Regions from separate parts of the Homo sapiens genome. Here all the other regions are linked to region 1. Evidence: promoter capture Hi-C in 16 types of primary human blood cells and fetal thymus (Javierre and others, 2016). All regions are on one chromosome and are shown on one strand. The core of a region is centred on a gene start or on the middle of the fragment in contact, and the rest is flanking DNA. Distances in the headings are between cores, read along the strand shown.

What was found. Contacts are between HindIII fragments. The CHiCAGO score rates a contact against its expected background, and 5 or more counts as called.
Region 2: a contact is called between a fragment that was not itself captured here and the fragment with the promoter of PTMS in region 1, in 7 of 17 cell types (activated CD4 T cells, naive CD4 T cells, non-activated CD4 T cells and 4 more). The highest score is 10.8, in activated CD4 T cells.
Region 3: a contact is called between a fragment that was not itself captured here and the fragment with the promoter of PTMS in region 1, in 1 of 17 cell types (naive CD8 T cells). The highest score is 5.6, in naive CD8 T cells.
Region 4: a fragment that was not itself captured here is called in contact with the fragment with the promoter of PTMS in region 1 in 1 of 17 cell types (total CD4 T cells); the score reaches 5.3 in total CD4 T cells.
Region 5: a fragment that was not itself captured here is called in contact with the fragment with the promoter of PTMS in region 1 in 2 of 17 cell types (total CD4 T cells and activated CD4 T cells); the score reaches 6.2 in total CD4 T cells.
Region 6: a fragment that was not itself captured here is called in contact with the fragment with the promoter of PTMS in region 1 in 1 of 17 cell types (naive CD8 T cells); the score reaches 6.0 in naive CD8 T cells.
Region 7: the fragment with the promoter of CD27 here is called in contact with the fragment with the promoter of PTMS in region 1 in 4 of 17 cell types (naive CD8 T cells, total CD4 T cells, naive CD4 T cells and 1 more); the score reaches 5.7 in naive CD8 T cells.

What each region holds. Positions count from the first base shown.
Region 1 is chr12:6,765,113-6,767,840 of GRCh38, reverse strand. It overlaps PTMS (parathymosin), which reads right to left and starts at 1,478. Exons shown (of 5, transcript NM_002824.6): 1 at 1,091-1,478. The coding sequence starts at 1,135. RefSeq lists silencers at 674-1,173, 1,284-1,613. The HindIII fragment of the contact is 8,838 bases long and covers 1-1,926 here.
Region 2 is chr12:6,321,497-6,324,224 of GRCh38, reverse strand. The region is part of intron 13 of PLEKHG6 (pleckstrin homology and RhoGEF domain containing G6); the gene reads right to left. Among named protein-coding and RNA genes, the nearest start is that of PLEKHG6, 12 kb to the right of the region's middle. RefSeq lists enhancers at 1-210, 654-743, 794-863, 752-1,293. The HindIII fragment of the contact is 1,382 bases long and covers 701-2,082 here.
Region 3 is chr12:6,347,932-6,350,659 of GRCh38, reverse strand. SCNN1A (sodium channel epithelial 1 subunit alpha) reads left to right here. Exons shown (of 13, transcript NM_001038.6): 9 at 1,255-1,333; 10 at 1,439-1,496; 11 at 1,655-1,710; 12 at 1,858-1,933; 13 at 2,407-2,728. LOC107984500 (a long non-coding RNA gene) reads right to left here and starts at 2,479. Exons shown (of 4, transcript XR_007063191.1): 1 at 2,393-2,479. The HindIII fragment of the contact is 4,954 bases long and covers 1-2,728 here.
Region 4 is chr12:7,152,966-7,155,693 of GRCh38, reverse strand. All of the region lies in intron 16 of CLSTN3 (calsyntenin 3), which reads right to left. Among named protein-coding and RNA genes, the nearest start is that of CLSTN3, 24 kb to the right of the region's middle. The HindIII fragment of the contact is 748 bases long and covers 935-1,682 here.
Region 5 is chr12:6,391,419-6,394,146 of GRCh38, reverse strand. It overlaps LTBR (lymphotoxin beta receptor), which reads right to left. Exons shown (of 10, transcript NM_002342.3): 10 at 2,581-2,728. Among named protein-coding and RNA genes, the nearest start is that of LTBR, 8.6 kb to the right of the region's middle. RefSeq lists an enhancer at 2,674-2,728. The HindIII fragment of the contact is 2,950 bases long and covers 1-2,728 here.
Region 6 is chr12:6,407,814-6,410,541 of GRCh38, reverse strand. It overlaps the pseudogene RPL31P10. Among named protein-coding and RNA genes, the nearest start is that of LTBR, 25 kb to the right of the region's middle. The HindIII fragment of the contact is 9,699 bases long and covers 1-2,728 here.
Region 7 is chr12:6,443,642-6,446,369 of GRCh38, reverse strand. It overlaps CD27 (CD27 molecule), which reads right to left and starts at 1,415. Exons shown (of 6, transcript NM_001242.5): 1 at 1,139-1,415; 2 at 815-946. The coding sequence starts at 1,274. It overlaps CD27-AS1 (CD27 antisense RNA 1), which reads left to right. Exons shown (of 6, transcript NR_015382.2): 5 at 2,653-2,728. RefSeq lists enhancers at 135-254, 964-1,143, 1,174-1,233, 778-1,279, 2,184-2,233 and 1 more. The HindIII fragment of the contact is 1,289 bases long and covers 715-2,003 here.

The sequences.
Region 1 (2,728 bases), core at 229-2,728:
ACATGTAACTGACACGGGCAGTCCCACACACTCGCTGGATTTCAGACATACAAAGACACCTACTCAGTGAAGTCACATGCCACCGCACAGCCCGCCGGAGGGCCACACGGGCGCACCTTGGCAGATCGCACACAGCCCCTCTCCCACCGCCGTTAATCCCATTGGCTCCCCCCGTTTCACTCCGCGGGCCTCCGGGAGACCTGTGTGACGGCCCCTCAGCAACCACCGCGCCCCCCCCCCCCGCCATACACATACACACACAAGATAGGGCTCCCAGCCCCCAAACCCCGGCCGCGTTAATTTCCCAAAGCGACACTCCGCAGGTTCCCTGGGGAAATTAGAGGAAGGCTGGAAGAGAGGCAAGGGCGAACGGATGGGGCCGGGGAAGGGAGCTGATGAGGGCGAGGACAGCTCGACGCAATGCCATGCAATGCCCAGCCTCGGCTTTTTCGAAGGCTAGTCCTGCCCCGCTTCTAATTTTTAGGAATTCGAGATTCTTTCAGTGTGTATGCGGGAAGGGGACGATGAAGAGAAAAGAAAGCTGAAAGCCAGCTGAGGGGAGGGAACGAGAAAACAGAGGCGGCCGCCGTCCGGGGAGAGAAGCGAGCGACGGTCGGGCCGCGGGGAGGGGCCCGGAGGAGCAGCCTCCAGGGAGAGTCCTGTTTACACTTGAGGATCTCAAACCGCTTAGCGAGGAAAGGTGAGGTCAGGTTGCAAGCAAAGACGCGGCAGCGGGGCGCAGGGAGGGGGCGCGGCAAAGTGAGACTCGGGGCGTTCGGACGGGAAGCCGGACGGGATCCGGTCAGCGAGGTGGGGCCGAAGAGGGGTGGGGACGGCTGCGGGGGACGGCGCGACCGGAGCGGCGAGGCCGGGCGCCGTGGTGCGCGCAGGGCAGCTAGAGGGCGCTGGCGCTAGCCGCGCGGAGCCGGGAAAGGAGCTCCGGGCCGGGGAGCGGTGGGAGGGCGCAGTGGGGTCCGCCAGGACCCGGGCGCAAGGGCCGCGCGGGGCCGTCGGGGGCGGCCTGGGGCGAAGGACCGCGCCGGGCCCCAGGGCTGCGCGAGGTCCGGGCCGCCGCCGCCCCCGCCCGTACCTTGGCGCTCAACTCGGCCGCTGCCTCCACGCTTTTCTCCGACATGGTGCCGGGGCCGGGGCCGGGGCTGGCGGGGAGCCGGGGTCCCGGGGCCGAGACGGAGGGGCCCTGGACGGCGGAGGGTGGCCGCGGCCGGAACCTGGCGCGGTGGCGGCGGCGGCGGCGACAGCGGCAGCGGCGGCCGCTCGGCAAGCTGGGTCTCTGGAAGAGGCGGCAGAGGCGCGCGGGGTGGGGCGGGGGTGGGTCTGGAGCGGAGACCCGCAGGGCTGCGGCCGTCCGGAGGGCGGGCGGAAGGGCGGTGCAGGCGGTGGCCGGCGCGCTCGGCCGCGGTAGCTCGATCCCGGGCTCGCCGCCCCCGCACCAGCAGAGCTGCCGCCGACCAGCCGCTGCCGCCCCCGGGAAGGGAACCCGCTTATAAGGCGGCGCTGCCCGACGGGAGGGGCTTCCCAGGGGTGGGGCAGGCGGGAGCGGGGAGGAGAGGAGAGGGGAGGGGGATGAAAGAGGAGGTTGGAGAGGTGGGGATAGGAGGATGAAAGCGAGGGGAGGGAGAGCTAGGGAGTCGGGAGGGAGGACGAGACCAGGAGGGGGAAATGGAGAGACTGACGGCCGCGGAGAAAGAGTGGGGCGAGGAGGTGGGAAGGGGTGGGGTTCCTGCGGGGAGGCACCTTTCCAAATCCCAACCTACTGCCTGCGAATGTGGAGTCTGGCTTTTGGGGGCGGACTGGAGAGGTGGCCAGAATCCTACTGACCCCAAAAAAAGCCCTGGGATTTTGCCAAGGGGTGGGGTGAGGGGAGCAGATGGGAAGATAGGGCAGGTATTTGAGAAACCAAAAGCTTAAAGAAGAGGAAGAGGGTTCGGGCGCTCCTTCCACACCACGCCGGATTTCCCCCTCTCATCCTCCATCCACATTCTCTGGATGGCCTTGAGGAGGGATGGGAGGGCAGAAAGGGCGGCCCAGCCTTCTGTCCCGCCAGATTGACACTTGTGACCCTTGCCGGGTGCCTCCCTTCCTGGCCCCGTGCTGTGAGCCGGGGGGAGTCAGGCCCCCTGGTCTCCTTTGCTGTCTTCCAGCTCTCTTCCATCTTCTACCTCTCTTATTCGCCCGTCTCACCTCACTTTTATTCGCCTGGTCCTTCTATTTCTCTTCATCCGTCCTCAGTCATCTGTACCTAGACCCCTCCTTCACAACCAATTATAACTCGAATCGCTCCCATTCTTCTCTCACCTCTTCTCCACTCCTCACTGACTCTCTTCTGCCCTTCCACCTCTGGTCTCTTTCCCTATCTTTCCCAGACAACCCTGCTCTTGTCTTATCTGAGTCAGGCACCTGGCCCTCTATTCTTGGCTGGCTTTCCTCAACTCCTCTTTCTGTCCTCATTTTTTACATTTTCCATCCTTCAGCTTTTCTCATTCCTCTGCTGCCATCTTCCCTAGCCTTTCTGGGTTATATTTGCCTCCTTTGCAAATATAATACAGGTCCAGGTCTGGAGTTCCAGCCCCACCCTATTCCACACATCCTCAGCTCCTCGCCCTCAATCTCGGTATCTTTGAGTCATTTTGAAAAGCTTGGGATTTCAGAAGGGAACAGGGGCTGGGTTGTGTATTAAAGGTCAGGAAGGTGGACAGAGTGGAAGGCT
Region 2 (2,728 bases), core at 142-2,641, 440 kb after region 1:
AGGTGCCTCCCAGCGAGCCCAAAGCCTCTCCAGCAACCCTGGGAGAATTTTCTCGGCTTGGTTAAGAGGAGAGACACATGGGGGCAGAGGGGACGGGAAAGGAAAAGGAAATTGGCGCTTAAGCCAGAATGTGACCCCCCTACAAAACTGAGAAGAGGAAGGGAGGGCCCCTAGCAGGATTCTTCTTCCTTTGTACCCATGGAGAGGAAATGCCTCCTTTCCCTGCTGTCTCTGGGGTGGCTCCTAGATTCACCCACTCTCCTCCCAGAACTCCCCAGTGCCGGACTAAAACCGAACTCTGAAACGTGCCCACTGACTTCCTGAGCAACAGATGCGGATGCGTTTCCCCAGTCAGCAGCAGGCCCTACCCAGGCCCCAAAGACCACCCCTTTCTTCTAATGATGACAACGGCAAACATTTATGGAGTGCCCATACAGTGCTGGGCCTTGTGCCTGGCCACTTGCGGACTGTCTGTCCTGCGTGCACTGCAACTCCCCAAGAGGTGAAGTAACTCCCTGACAGCTGCTCGGGCCTCTCCTTCAGACCCTGGCTCTTAGCCTCGGCTGCCTCCTTCAGTCTCCCTGCTTTAATTTCTTGGTCGCCATCTCTGACGGCTCTTTCTGTTCCTGTCTCTGTTCCTTTTCCTCTTCTCAGTCCCTGGGCATTCCCCAAGATTCAGTCTCTTCTCCCTGGAGAAGCTTACTTTCTCTAAAAGTGTGAGTCATCACAGCTAGACCCGCTAGGAATAAATCTGCAAGTCAACGTTTCTGCCAGGGTGAGAAAACAATAGTCTGCCCCCTGGGGATTGCTCTATGAAAGGGACCAACAGAGTTTCTACTGCCCTCTTCAGTGTATAAAGACTGATGGCTCTAGAGAGGATTCCCTAATAATCTGGTGTGAGACAATAGCAGGAAAAGTCATTTCAAAGTTTCAGTTTTCTTTGTTTTGCTAAGGAAGGCCAGGGAGCCTTGGTGCATATCTTGGTTATAGATCTTGACAGATCTTTCCTGTTAGCCTGGAGTGAGACTACCAGGGGACTGAGTTGTTTTGCATAGTAAAATACCCGTAATTTTCAGTAGCTCTTGGGATTCTGAAAGGGAGAAGGTGAGAGTCTGGCTGTTGTTCTGTGACTAAAAACCAAAAAAAAGAGGAGAAAGTTCTGAAGGTGGAGGTGGCAGTTCCGAAGGAAAAAAGGCAGCCTGCCATTCACTGCCAGCCCCACTGGCTATCCTGGGGAGTTGGGGCTCTAGGGACACCGATGCCACTAGCTTGCGCTTTTGTCCCTGGGCTCCCCCTTGAGCCTCTAGCCTTCAGGAAAATGTTTTATTTAACTTTTTTTTTTTTTAGACAAGGTCTCACCCTGTTGTCTGGGTTGTAGTGCAGTGGTGGGAACATAGCTCACCGCAGGCTCTATCTCCCGGGTTCAAGTGATCCTCCCACCTCAGCCTCCCGAGTAGCTGGGACTACAGGCATGCGCCACCAGGCCCAGCTAATTTTTGTATTTTTTGTAAAGATGGGGTTTTGCCATGTTGGCCAGGCTGGGTCTTGAACTTCTGGTCTCAAGCCATCTGCCTGCCTCAGCCTCTCAAAGTGCTGGGATTAGAGGAGGTGAGCCACTACGCCTGGCCAAGAAAATTTGATTAACCACCAGAATGATGTCACTTGCCAGTCAGTCCAGCCTAGTGGAAAGTGTGTTTAGGCTTAGGTGGAAGTGGTGGAGAGAAGTCCCTGCCATGCAGAGGGGACAGTGAACCGAGCCGGAAGCAGGGGACAGGGCAGATGGGAGACCACTGTCATCACAAAACCCACCTGCCTCCCCTTGGGGTGTGTTTTTTGTCCTCCTCTTTCACTTGAATTCCAGGTCTTTGTTTCTGTTTCTTTTGTTCCCAAAGCCCCTAAGATATCTCCACTAGGTTATATCTTGGCTGCCTCAATTTCAAAGCGCTGCTGTTTAAATATTCCTACAGTAAAGCCACCTCACTGAGGAAGCAATAACTAAACAAACACATTTCCCTTTCCCTTTCTAATGACTGCATTTCTGTCTGGGGTCCCATTGCCAATGCAGTGTTCCAAACTGAAGCTTCGGGAGGCCAACTGTGCTCTTTGCCGCTGGGTATCTGGAGTTCCTGAGCCTGTGCCCAGTGCTGGCCCCAGGCTGTGTGCCTAAGCCGAATGACAGCTTTGAATCTCCCTAGGAAGCAGGTAGTCATTGTGTATATCTGTTTTGCAGATGACGAAATTGAAGTTGAGGGAGGTCATATAACTTACCCAAGGTCACATGGCTAGGACCTGGTAGGACCGGTGTCTGAACCTGGATTTTTCTGAATTCAGTATAGACTTTAACCAAAGTATCCCTAAGGCTCCCCCTTCTCTTCCCTCTTCTTTTTTTTTTTTTTTTAAGACAGAGTCTCGCTCTGTCGCCCAGGCTGGAGTGCAGTGGCGCGATCTCGGCTCACTGCAAGCTCCGCCTCCCGGGTTCACGCCATTCTCCTGCCTCAGCCTCCCGAGTAGCTGGGACTACAGGTGCCCGCCACCGCGCCCGGCTAATTTTTTGTCTTTTTTAGTAGAGATGGGGTTTCACCGTGGTCTCAATCTCCTGACCTCGTGATCGGCCCGCCTCGGCCTCCCAAAGTGCTGGGATTACAGGCGTGAGCCACCGCGCCCGGCCTCTTCCCTCTTCTTTAGGTCCTTTCTTCTCCTTTGTTTTTTGTCCCTTTTTGCAATGTCT
Region 3 (2,728 bases), core at 157-2,656, 420 kb after region 1:
TCACCATGTTGGCCAGGCTGGTCTCGAATTCCTGACCTCAGGTAATCCACCTGCCTCAGCCTCCCAAAGTGTTGGTATTACAGGCGTGAGCCACCGCACCCAGCCTATTGTCTTTTTTTAAATAACACACATCTTAATGGGTGTGAAGTGGTATCTTATTGTGGCTTAATTCCCTTATTCTTATACAATTATTGTTCCCATTTTTCTTTTCTTTTTTTTTTTTTTTGAGACGGAGTCTCGCTCAGTCGCCCAGGCTAGAGTGTGCAATGGCGCGATCTCGGCTCACTGCAAGCTCCGCCTCCCGGGTTCACGCCATTCTCCTGCCTCAGCCTCCCGAGTAGCTGGGACTACAGGCGCCCGCCACCACGCCCGGCTAATTTTTTGTATTTTTAGTAGAGACGGGGTTTCACCGTGTTAGCCAGGATGGTCTCGATCTCTTGACCTCGTGATCCACCCGCCTCGGCCTCCCAAAGTGCTGGGATTACAGGCGTGAGCCACCACGCCCGGCCTGTTCCCATTTTTCTTTATGGCGTTTATGTTTTTGTCCATAGCATATATTTCCTTACACTGGTGTATCCTGTTTTGTTTTTCGCCTGACTTAGCTTATTTTCTTTCTTTATTAATTTATTTTTTAGGCCAGGTGCGGTCGCTCACACCTGTAATCCCAGCACTTTGGGAGGCCGAGGCGGGCAGATCACGAGGTCAGGAGATCGAGACCATCTTGGCTAACACAGAGAAACCCCATCTCTACTAAAAATACGAAAAATTAGCCGGGCGTGGTGGCGGGCGCCTGTAGTCCCAGCTACTCCGGAGGCTGATGCAGGAGAATGGTATGAACCCGGGAGGCGGAGCTTGCAGTGAGCCAAGATTGCGCCACTGCACTCTAGCGTGGGCAACAGAGCGAAACTCCGTCTAAAAAAAAAATTAATTTATTAAAAATTTTTTTTTTTAGAGACAAGGTCTCACTCTGTTGCCAGAGTTGGAGTACAAAGGCACACTCATAGCTCACTTGCAACCTTGAACTCCTGGCCTCAAACGACCCTCCCACCTCGGCCTCCCAAAGTGCTGAGCCACTGTCCCTGGCTTAGCTTAATTTCTTAAACGCTTCTTGGTACTGCCACTCATAAGGCATCATTATAATGCTAAATAATGCTCTTGTAAAGTGGGTACCCAGGGATCTTGGGAGACCTCTTGGGTGTGGGGTAGAGAAAGCTGAGGTGCCCTAGGAGAACAGGCATCTCTCTGTACCCACAGGGTACTGCTACTATAAGCTCCAGGTTGACTTCTCCTCAGACCACCTGGGCTGTTTCACCAAGTGCCGGAAGCCATGCAGGTTAGTGTCCCCTTCCCCGGGTACAGGTTGGGTAGAATACAGGTTACCGAGCCAAGCATTTGGGAGAGCTCTGCCCCAACACTGAGCACCTTTCTCCATCCCCAGCGTGACCAGCTACCAGCTCTCTGCTGGTTACTCACGATGGCCCTCGGTGACATCCCAGGTAGAGTGTGGGGAAGGGATGGGTGGGGGATGTGTGTGCCCATGTAATGCTGTGGCCTTCTCTGGGTATTATGTGTATGAGTGTGTTTGACACAACCCTATCCCTGTAAGCCTGAAGCATATGGGAGTGACCTTGATGACACCCCCATTCTTTCCTAGGAATGGGTCTTCCAGATGCTATCGCGACAGAACAATTACACCGTCAACAACAAGAGGTCAGTCCTGCCCTGGTCCCAGCCACAAGAAGGGAATCTTTGGGAGGGAAAATAGACCTAAGAAGAGGGATCGATATGGTTGATTAGAGGAAGGTCCAGGAAATTCATCCTCTACCATTTCTTCCCACCCTCTGCCCCACACCTAAGAAATGGAGTGGCCAAAGTCAACATCTTCTTCAAGGAGCTGAACTACAAAACCAATTCTGAGTCTCCCTCTGTCACGGTAGGTCGTGCCTGGATGGAGCCTGTGATGCTCTGGGGGTCTTACTTAGCAGGGCGGCTGTCGGGGAAAACCAAAAGGTTGTCTCTGTGGGCCAGAAGGCTCTGAGTCTCAAAGGCAGGGGACCAAAGAAGAGGGTCAAGGGAGAGGTTGGGAGGGTTGGAAGAAGGAGCTCGGCCGGGGCATAAGGTCTCTGGGGGTGGTGGGAGGGACAGGCATGCTAGATGCTGGGGTGAAGGCGCTTGACCCATGCCCCCATTTCAGCTGCCCCTAACTGTGGGCCAGTTATCAGTTTTCTCTGGGTGACACTGGCCAGGAGCAGAGACAAAGAGCCCAGGGGGCTGCTGAGAGGCTGAGAGGACTCGGGGGTCTTCAGGGATGAAGGGAGACAGCTTGGTGAGGAGGGAAGGGGGCTCCTCTGCCAGAGTCCATCCAGAACCCTCTGTCCCATCGTCAATGTACCTCTCCTCTCACAGATGGTCACCCTCCTGTCCAACCTGGGCAGCCAGTGGAGCCTGTGGTTCGGCTCCTCGGTGTTGTCTGTGGTGGAGATGGCTGAGCTCGTCTTTGACCTGCTGGTCATCATGTTCCTCATGCTGCTCCGAAGGTTCCGAAGCCGATACTGGTCTCCAGGCCGAGGGGGCAGGGGTGCTCAGGAGGTAGCCTCCACCCTGGCATCCTCCCCTCCTTCCCACTTCTGCCCCCACCCCATGTCTCTGTCCTTGTCCCAGCCAGGCCCTGCTCCCTCTCCAGCCTTGACAGCCCCTCCCCCTGCCTATGCCACCCTGGGCCCCCGCC
Region 4 (2,728 bases), core at 59-2,558, 390 kb before region 1:
GTATTTCTCAACTTCCTGGGAACGGGGGATAAGGGAGGAGGGGACAGAGCTGTCTCTCCTGCCCATCTGCAGGAAATAGTGTCTCTCAGGTCTCCACGTCAACAGACCAGAGCCAGGGGCAGTGCCTTCACTGGCAGATGGGCCCAGTGGCTAAGCCCAGGCTCCAGAAGGGGTGGTGACCCCACCCTCAGAGTGGAGGCCAAAGCAGGTGAACTTCCTCTAAGCACACAACGATGACGAGCTAAAGCTGGTTTGCGCCCTAATCAATGCAGTGTCCCTCCGAGCTCCTGGCCTAATGAAGGAAATGACAAGTTGATTGCCAGGACAATAAGAAATGACCACAGGAAAGACAAAATGCAGACACTCTATCTACAAGCAAACAAGTCTGGTTAATTAGTTTAAGATGAGTCAGGAGCCCGGGGAGATGGGAGGATTTTTAAATCAGCTACAGATAAAAATCAAGAATTTAAGAAGTGCGTTCAGCTTTTCTTGCTACATGAGATCTGAGCAGTTAATTCTGGCCTTGAATGACCTCCAGAGCCAACATTAAGGGGTGACTTAGCAAATGGTCCATGGGATTGCGAGGACAGTGGAAAGCCCTGTCCATGGCCCCACACGGTGCTCTCTTTGCAAAGAGCCTTGGGAGAGATTTCTTTCTGCCCCCCGCACTCCCAGGGCTTTTCATGAAATAGCGTTTGGCTCCTATCACGGCTCTCAGAACTGCTCAGGTTTCCTTTTGCTTTAGCTTTGAAGAAGCTCAGGGTCAAAATTCTGGCCCGTGGTAGCAACTGCATAGCATCTCATAGTACGCATGTTATGAGCTGACTTTATTCCCTGGCTTCATTGGATCCTTATTTCATCATTACCTGTTCCTCCTTACTTCCTCATTCATTTTCTTTTTGTCCTATTGCTTTGTAACTCTTTCTGCAAAGCTTCAGATACTTGTAGGAAACAAAAGAGGAAAATTATTCCCAAACTTTTAAAGATTACATGGGATTTTTAAAAACCACTGACACGTGGCTCCCACCCCCTAGACATTCTAGGGTATAATTTAGGTGCCGAGAGTTTTTAAAGCTCCCCAGGTGATTCTGGCAGTCATCAAAATTTGATATGAGTAGATACATAATACCCTCATCATCCGGCTTGCTCTTCTCAACCAACCTTATTCTCTCTAACCATAAACACTCTTAACCACCTATCTACCCCCGGTTCTCAAATTCCCATTCTCTCTCACACCCATCCAAAAATCCCTTTTACAGTTCAGGTCCAAATGCAAACTCTACATGTGCCACAAAATCTCCCCTGACTGTTCCAGTTTACCCTGGTTCCAGTTCACATTCATCTCTCTTTCTCTAGTGCACTTAGGAGATTTAGAGCAATGGGCCTCCGTGCCACTGGAGGAGATCGTACCTCTCACTGCTTCTGCATGTTTAGAATGGTTTGATATTGTGAAACCACAGTTCTGCAACACCACTCGAGATTTGTAGGTGAAAGGGAGGGAGCACCTTGCGGAGTCAGAAAAGGCATATGGAAAGGGTTTTATGCCGTGAATGGCCTGTCAGCTCAGGCATGCCAATCACCAGTGCCCTCAGGGAAGCTACGAACTCTGTGTCCTATTCAGGTCAAAATAAGAGAAGAAGCAAAGGAAAACTGCTGCTCTCAACTGAAATCTGAGGGAAGCTTGATCAGCCTGGACATGAGCTCAGAACAAAGGATGGGGAGACTGGGCTTCACCGAGGGGAGGTGAAAGGGTGCCGTGAACAGACACTCCTCCAGGGGCTGAGGGGTGAGAAACGCTGCCCGCCAGACCAGCCCATGCAGGGCAGCTGGACACTCAGGGGAGAAGGTGCTGGGCTCCTAGAACAAGAAGTCTCTCACCTGGGGCCTTATACCAAAGAAAGTAAGGATCGAGAATCTCACCAGGCCAGGCAGCACCCCTATCTACCTTGAGCCTAATCAGAGTAGCAGGACCTAGTATCCAACCAGAAAAGATTGAGTGGAATGATCCCCAATGAAAGAACTGGAGAAAGTGCTATGGAATCACAAGAAGGAAAAAAATTTATAGCTGGCCTCAAGAGTTTATTTGAAATAAATAGGTTTAGCTTGCTAACATGTCTCTATTGACTAAATACTATGTGAAACTTCTCTAATCTTTGCAGCTTGGTTATGCCTTATATTCCCCGCTAATCCTCACTTCCACCTACTTGCTATAGTGAATCACAGTAGAACACTGAAAAAGGCGTCTGCAAGTCCAAGTGCGGCGGCTCACACCTGTAATCCCAGCACTCCGGGAAGCTGAGCCAGGATGACCGCTTGAGCCTAGGAGTTCAAGACCAGCCTGAGCAACAAAGTGAGACCTTGTCTCTATAAAAAGTCTTAAAAATAGCCAGGCATAGTGGCATGCATCTGCTCCTCAGGGGGCTAAGGCAGGAGGATTGCTTGAGCTCAGGAGTTCGAGGCTCCAGTGAGCTAGGATTACCACTGCTCTCCAGCCTAGGCGACAGAACAAGACCCTGTCTCTCCCTCCCAAAAGCCTCTGCGGTTGTTTTCAGGGACAGCAAGGAAGAAGGGAGCCAGTCCCAGAAAAATAAAATAAAATAAAATAAGAGACAGTGTAGGTGGTGGCCGTTGCACAAGGAGAGGAAGCCAGACTGAATCCCTGGGGGCATCAGAGGAGCTGGCCTCAGTCAGAAAACCCTGGGAAGCCCCTCAGGGGCTCCCCCTAATT
Region 5 (2,728 bases), core at 92-2,591, 370 kb after region 1:
ATTCTGAATTACCCCATCCTCCCCCATCTCCCTGTGCTACTGCTCTGTCCCCAGTTCCATCCACCTTTCTTCTGGACTACAGCCTTGGCCCCCTAACGGGTGTCCCACCCCCGTGTTGATGTGGGTTGGACTTGGTGTTAGCTTTCTCCTCCCTGTGGTAGAGGATTAGGGTTCTCACAACCAACAGTTACCCCATTGTCAACTGCCATTGCATCCTGTTGCATCTTTTGAAGACCACCATCAAGAGGCTGTCTTTGTTGGTTTTCTGCCAGCTTTTCCTTGTAGACAGGAGCTCCCCTCTACGTGGCCTGTGCTCTGTGGATGTGTCCTGGAGCCTGTACTGACTCCACACTGGCAAAATAGACATGGGTAATGCTGTGGGTGGAACTGTGTCTCCCTCCAAAATCCACGTGCTGAAGCCCTAACTCCCAGGACCTCAGAATGGGGCCTTATTTGGAGACAGGGGCTTTAAAGAGGTGACTAAGTTAAAATGAGGTCATCAGGATGGGCCCTAATCCACTAAGAGAAGATTAGGACACACTCATGCACAAAGGCAAGACCATGTGAAGACATAGGTGGCAGGAAGGCCACCATTAGCAGGCCAAGGACAGAGGCCTCAGAGGACACCAACCTTGCCAACACGTTGACCTCTGACTTCCAGCCTCCAGAGCTGTGAGAAGATAAATCTCTGCAGCTTAAGCTATCGAGTCTGCAGTACTTTGTTATGGCGGCCCTAGAAAATTAATTTAGGCAGCCCAGGTGCAGTGGCTCATGCCTGCAATCTCAGCTCTTTGGGAGGCTGAGGTGGGAGGATCACTTGATCCCAGGAGTTTGAGACCAGCCTGGACAACATAGCAAGACCCCACTTCTTAAAAAAGAAATTAAAAAAAAATTAGCCAGGTGTGGTGGCACGCATCTGTAGCTCTAGCTACGTGGGAGGCTGAGGTAGGAAGATCATTTGAGTCTAGGAGCTGAGGCTATATGAGCCACGATTATACCACTGCACTCAAGCCAGGGCGACACAGTAAGACCCTGTCTCTAAAAAAATACAGGCAGGTATAATTATAAATTTGAATGGTGTCACAAAGGGCTGTGCTTCAGCATCATTTCTTTCAAAATATTTTCCTCCTTTTATTTTGTTGAAAAAAATGTATAAAATTTGTTTTTTATCTAAACACATTAGAACAATTATTAAGAATTCATGAGGTCTGGCCCCAGCATATTGCAGGGGCAGGAGGATTTAACTTTATTTAAAGATACAGCTCACCATTATTTACTTTTCAAAAAAGGAAGTTGGATGTGATATTTTCACAGTCAACCTTAAATGACCCATCCACTCCATTGGATCAGACGCCTTCTGAGGTGTGTGTTTTGCAGCCGCCCCACCCTGATGAGCTCCAGCGACAGAGTTCCTCATATCAGACCCATGAGAGTGGCCTTTTATGGAAGGAGCAGCCGGCTGGCAGCAGCTCCCTAACAATCCTGCAAGCTAAGATCCTCTCGACCGAGCACAGGAGAGAATTCAGGGGCAGGGAGGGGCAAACATTTACTAATAAGAGGGCTTGAGAAGATTTAAAGTCCTTTTTGGGGGTAAAAATAAAAGAAGACAAAAAGAAACCAAAAAAGTAAAAATCATAAATACTCTTTCTGAACCAAAAGGAGGCCAGCCTAGATTTCTGTTCACCAACAAAATGTGAACTTGGCCTCTCTCATTTTATGTCTAAAGTGCACACCTCAGGTCAGGCACGGTGGCTCTCACGCCTGTAATCACTGCATGTTCAGAGGCCAAGGCAGGAGGATTGCTTGAGCCCAGGAGTTCGAGACCAGCCTGGGCAACACAGGGAGACCTGATCTCTACTAAAAATACAAAAAATTAGCTGGGCGTCGTGGCACACACCTATAGCCCCAGCTACTTGGGAGGCTGAGGTGGGCGGATCCCTTGAGCCAGGAGTTCAAGGTTGCCATGAGCCATAATAGTGCCACTGCACAACAGCCTGAGTGACAGAATTAGATCCTGTCTCAAAAAAAAAAAAAAAAATTGCACACATTTCCCTTCAATCAACCTTGGAGAACATTTTTCACTTCGCGTGTGGCTAGATGTTTGAGAGTTGACTGAAAAGTAACACCTGCGGAACATGCAAGAGATCTGATTATTTGAGAAGGCCAGACCATTCTACCCGTTCAAAGAAATTCTGGAAGGGCGTGGTATATGAAGGCTTTTTTTTCCCCAAGAGGCCTCTAAAAGCCAGACGAACTAGGTGCAAATCCCAGCTTTGTCATTTGCAGCTGAATTGGGAAAGTTACCGCTCTGTGCCTCAGTTTCCTCATTTGTTAAATGGGAATCATATCTACCTTAGGGAGTTATTGTGAAGATTAAGTAAGTTAGTACTGTAAAGCATTGAGAACACTGCCTGGCACGTTGTCAGCCATCACTGACGAGACTGTTATTACCTGGACTATACTCACCAGCTCCTCACTGAAATATCTTTATGGGATTATATTTTAGTGTCTTGACCTTTGTCTTTGAGATTGTCTCCATGGAATAGTGTTTCTGTATAAATCCCAAGAAAATAAATTATCTAGGTCCCATTCTTTTTATTTGCATGTGGTTACAATATAAATACACTTGCCATTTTCCTCCCCTTCCAAAACTCTTCCCCATACCTAGGAATCCTACCCAACCCCCTAGTTGTTAATGACTCCCTTTCCTCTCCTCTAGGAGGGGAGG
Region 6 (2,728 bases), core at 61-2,560, 360 kb after region 1:
GCCTGGCCAGTATGGTGAAACCCCTCTCTACAAATACAAAAATTAGCTAGGCATGGTAGCGCATGCCTGTCAACCCAGCTACTGGGGAGGCTGAGGCAGGAGAATTGCTTGAACCCAGGAAGCAGAGGTTGCAATGAACAGAGATCATGCCACTGCACTCCAACCTGGGTGACAGAGCAATACTCCGTTTCAAAAAAAAGAAAAAGACACAATCTAAAAAGACAAAAAAAAAAAATCAGAACCAGACTCAGATATGACATCAGACATGGAATTTAAAGTAACATGATTATGTTAAAGGATTTAATGGAAAAGGTAGACAACATGCCAAAAGAAGATGGATAAATTCAGCAGAGGAAACCATAAGAATAAAATGGAAATGCTTGAAATAAAATCGTGGTGACAGAAATGAAGAACACCTTTGACTGGTTCATCAGTAGACTCAGTATAGCTGAGAAAAGAATCAGTGACCTTGGGTGTAGAGGTCAATAGAAATTTCCCAAACTCCCTTTCCAACTTGGACATGGCAGAATGGCTCCCACAAAGAAGGGTGGCGAGAAGAAAAAGGGCCGTTCTGCCATCAACGAAGTGGTGACCCGAGAATACACCATCAACATTCACAAGCGCATTTGTGGAGTAGGCTTCAAGAAGCGTGCCCCTCGGGCACTCAAAGAGATTCGGAAATTTGCCATGAAGGAGATGGAAACTCCAGATGTGCGCATTGATACCAGGCTCAACAAAGCTGTCTGGGCCAAAGGAATAAGGAATGTCCGACACCGAATCCATGTGCGGCTGTCCAGAAAACGTAATGAGGATGAAGATTCACAAATAAGCTCTATACTTTGGTTACCTATGTATTTGCTACCACTTTCAAAAATCTACAGACAGTCAATGTGGATGAGAACTAATCGCTGATAGTCAAATACATCAAATAAAGTTATAAAATTGCAAAAAAATAAAGAGGAATTACCCAAACTGAAGTGCAAAAAAAGAGTGGGTAAAAAACAAAACAGAACAACAACAAAAAAGAAAGAAAGAAGACACCATCCAAGAATACCAAATGAGTTAACATGCCCATAATTGGAATTCCAGAAGGAGAAGAAAGACTTGGACAGGATTTGTCTAATCAGACTTAGTTAAACAAACAAACAAACGAACAAAAAGAATAAGACAGGAGAAACATTTGAAGAGATAATGGCTTAGAATTATCCAAAATTAGTAACAGACAGAAAAGCACAGATCAAGGAAGCTCAGAGAACACCAAGCAGGATAAATACCAAAACAACACAGCCCCTCACCAAACCCATGCATCTAGGCATATCATATTAAAACTGCTGAAAACCAAAGAGAAAGAAAATCTGGAAGTCAGCCAAGGGGGAAAAAACATAATATCTTACCGAGGAGCGAGGATAAGAATTACAGCAGACTGCTAGTCAGAAACAATAAAAGCAAAATGAAATGGAGTAATATCTTTTTTTTTTTTTTTTTTGAGATGGAGTCTCGCTCCATCACTCAGGCTGGAGTGCAGTGGCATGATCTTGGCTCACTGCAACCTCCGCCTCCCGGGTTCAAGTGATTCTCCTGCCTCAGCTAGGTGCCTGCCATCATACCCAGCTAATTTTTGTATTTTTAGTAGAGACGGGTTTTCGCCATGTTGGCCAGGCTAGTCTCAAACTCCTGACTTCAGGTGATCCACCAACCTTGGCCTCCCAAAGTGCTAGGATTACAGGCGTGAGCCACTGTGCCTGGCCCAAATTAAGAGTTTTCTATTTTTATTTTTATTTTTTTAGAGACGGGGTCTCACTACGTTTCCCAGGATGGTCTGAAACTCCTGGACTCCAGTGATCCTCCCACCTCAGCCTCCCAAAATGCTGGGATTACAAGCATTAGCAACTACACCAGGCCAAAATTAAAAGTTTATCAGACAAACAGAAACTGAGGAAGTTGATTGCCAGCAGACCTACTTTATAATAAATGTCAAAGCAAGTTCTCTAAGAAGAAGAGGCTGGGTGTGGTGGCTCACGCCTGTAATCCCAGCACTTTGGGGGGCCAAGGCGGGTGATCACTTGAGGTCAGGAGTTTGAGACCAGCCTGGCCAACATGGTGAAACCCTGTCTCTACTAAAAACACAAAAATTATCTGGGCGTGGTGGTGGGCGCCTGTAGTCCCAGCTACTCAAGTGGCTGAGGCAGGAGAATTGCTTGAACCCGGGAGGCGGAGGTCGCAGGGAGCCGAGATTGTGTCAGCCTGGGTTGAACAGAGTGAAACTTCGTCTCAAAAAAGAAAGAAGAAGAAGAAATATAATCAAAATCTTGGATCTATACAAAGAAACAACGTACTGTAGTTTATAGAATACCATTTACAATAGCAGCCCCCATGAAGTTTTTAGGTATAAATATAACAAAATACGTGGGAGATATGTGTGCTAAAAACTACAAAATACTGACGAAAGAAATCAACATGGGGCCGGGCATGGTGGCTCCTGCCTGTAATCCCAGCACTTTGGGAGGCCGAGGCGGGCGGATCACTTGCGGTCAGGAGTTCAAGACCAGTCTGGCCAACATGGTGAAACCCCGTCTCTACTAAAAATACAAAAATTAGCCCAGTGTGTTGGCACACGCCTGTAATCCCAGCTACTTGGGAGGCTGAAGCAAGAGAATTGCTTGACCCCAGGAGGCGGAGGAGGCGGTGAGCCAAGACTGCACCACTGCACTCCAGCCTGGGCGATGGA
Region 7 (2,728 bases), core at 166-2,665, 320 kb after region 1:
TGATTGCACCACTGCACTCCAGCCTGGGTGACAGAGCTAGACCTTGTCTCTAAACTAAACAAAACAAAACCCAGTACCAAGAGACCCAGTGACACCAAACACGTTTTGCAAGTAGGTAGTTTAATAGTTACAGTTACCTGGTTCTAAAAAGTGTCTTGCTAGAGAACATTTGTTCAAAGGGGCCACTTTAAAGCCTGCTATTCTAGTGTATACTGGCCGTAGTTTCTGAAATTGTAGCGAAGATGGAGAAATAATAACAGCATTCATAAGCACAACTGCAGATATTATACTTCTTAGTTTAAAAAAAACCTTTTTTTTTGGAACTATAAAATAAAAACACAGGCTACATACATACTCATTTTCTCAAATTGGCTTTTGTGCAAAAAAAGGTTGTTACCTATTGGGTTGCTTTGTTATTTCCTTAGAAAGATGTATTCCAAATTCCCAATGGCCAACCTGCACATGTGCACTCTGGGAACACAGTCAGTTTATTGGTTGGGGGTTGCTTGCCCGAAATCTGGGGTCATAGAGCCACTTCTCTCATTTTATTGTCTTGATCCTATCCATAGACCCGTTCTCACCAATCCCTCAAATTCTATTTATCCCTTTCCTGGAATACTAGATGTCTGCCCACGTTAATTCATGCCCCACCTAGGGTGCCGCATTTCCCAGCATTGGCTCCACTTGCTGTGAGCCTTGAAGAAGGCCAAAGCTTTGGCCCCGTCATCCTCCTTGCACCCCCAAACCCGTCACCAGCCTTGCTCCCCCAGATGCTTGTCCATCGTCCCCACCTACACACCCTTGCCCACCTCACCAGAGTTACAGTGCCGACAGCTCTCACAGTGGGGCCGGGTGTGGTGGTCAGGAGAGAAGGAGACCCCCGGTATGCAAGGATCACACTGAGCAGCCTTTCTATGCTGGTCACAGTCCTTCACGAGGAATGTTCCTGGGAGGAGAGGGTAAGGGATCAAGGCCTGAGAAGGGCTGGTTCTCTGCCCTCTTCAAGGTGGTGCCTCCCCACAGCTGCAGGATTTCCCTCCTTGCTTGAGCTCAGTCTCACCCTGCGCCTATTTACTGTATTAACCCCAGTCCTCTCTCTTTCGCCACTCACCTGGCCCTTACCAAGGCCCCCTCTTACCTGGCTCACACATCTGGCAGCACAGCTTTCCCTGAGCCCAGTAGTGCCTCTCTGGGCAGCTCTTGGGGGCTGGAGTAGCTGAGAGCCCCACCAGGGTCCCCAGAACGCACAGCCACCAGGGATGTGGCCGTGCCATGGTCCCTGCCCAGGCGGCTCCTTTCTGTGCCCAGTTGCTGATGCTGGCCTCTGGAGTTAGCACCTCCAAGCTGGGCGCTGCTGTCTCTTCTTTGCACCCCCTGGGCAGTGGCTGCTTCAGGTGGCAAGCCAACCTTTGAAGGCAGAATCTCTATTGTGGCTGTTTTTTTTTTCTCTCTCATAGCAGCAACCTCCACCCCCTTCCCCTTCCGTGTGCTGGGGAGAGTATTAAAGAGCAAACTCTGTGAGACCTGCTGCTCTTCAAACATGCTTCCTCCAACACATGAGCCTTCCTTAGTTTCCGCCTCTCCTGCTCATGAAGCACGTAGCCCACTGACTCCTGCTTCTTTGACAAAAAGGTGATGGACACACAGTTGCTCACCCCTCCTATTCATGCACTTGTGCACAAAGGTGCCCACGTTACCCCCCCCCACCCACCCCCCCGTCCACAGTTTACAGACGAATTCGCAGGACTCCTGTCTCCCATACCTGCATCCCTCCTTTCACAGACAACAGTTGAAAGAAGGAAGGAGAACCAGAATTGAGCACAGGTCCACAAGCTCTTATCTGAAACTTTGGGGGTCAGATAAGTTTTGGAATTCAGAATTTTTCAGGTTTATACAGAAACCAGCACCACAAAACACCCTTGGGGAGTTGGGGTAGTCTCATAATCAAACGCAACATTTCTGCAGCAAAACTATTGAATATTTACACCAACTGGGAGGAAGCTTAAATAGCCTTGTCTCAATTGAGGTCTGGTTTGATGGCCAAACGAGTTTGCTACAGAATGCTCAGAATTGCAAGCAAGGGGTGTAGAGCTGCCTCTCTTCTGTCACACTCTGACCGATCACCTATGCTCTCCTTTAATCCTCATGTCAGTCTCTGATGTGGGTGCCACCTACTGCCCACATGGCCTTCCCTCTCAGACCCTTGCTCACTCCTCACTTTTGTGCCATCTTTATCCTCCCCTTTCCCACCTCTGGCTGTGTCAGTCACTGGTGTCCTGGATCGCCTGGAGCATCTTCTCTCCTAGCCTTGGGCACTTGGGATTAAAGGTAGCTTCCTACGGGGGTCATCTCTTTTTTATTTTCCCAGTTCTCCCAGCAAGACTGATTTCGGGATATTGGAAACAGCTAGACTTTTCCCTCTTTGAGTCATGGGGACACACACGGGTCAACAGCCTCCTCCACTCTTTCCTCAGCAACCGATATGTGGAGTGGCTTATTTCCCCAGGAAGTTTTTAATTTAGGGGCTTTGCCGTTGTTTCCACACTGTTCATAAATGTCACACTGCTGTGGTCACACCTGTCAGATCTGTTCTCTATCTCACTCTGTAGTTTCCTTTCTCCTCATTTTCTCCATTCTCTTGTCTTTTCCCAGCCCCCTCTGCAGCTCTTCATGGGGGTCCACTCAAGTCAGAAGCCACATTTGGGTGTGATTCAGAGAGCTGTTTATG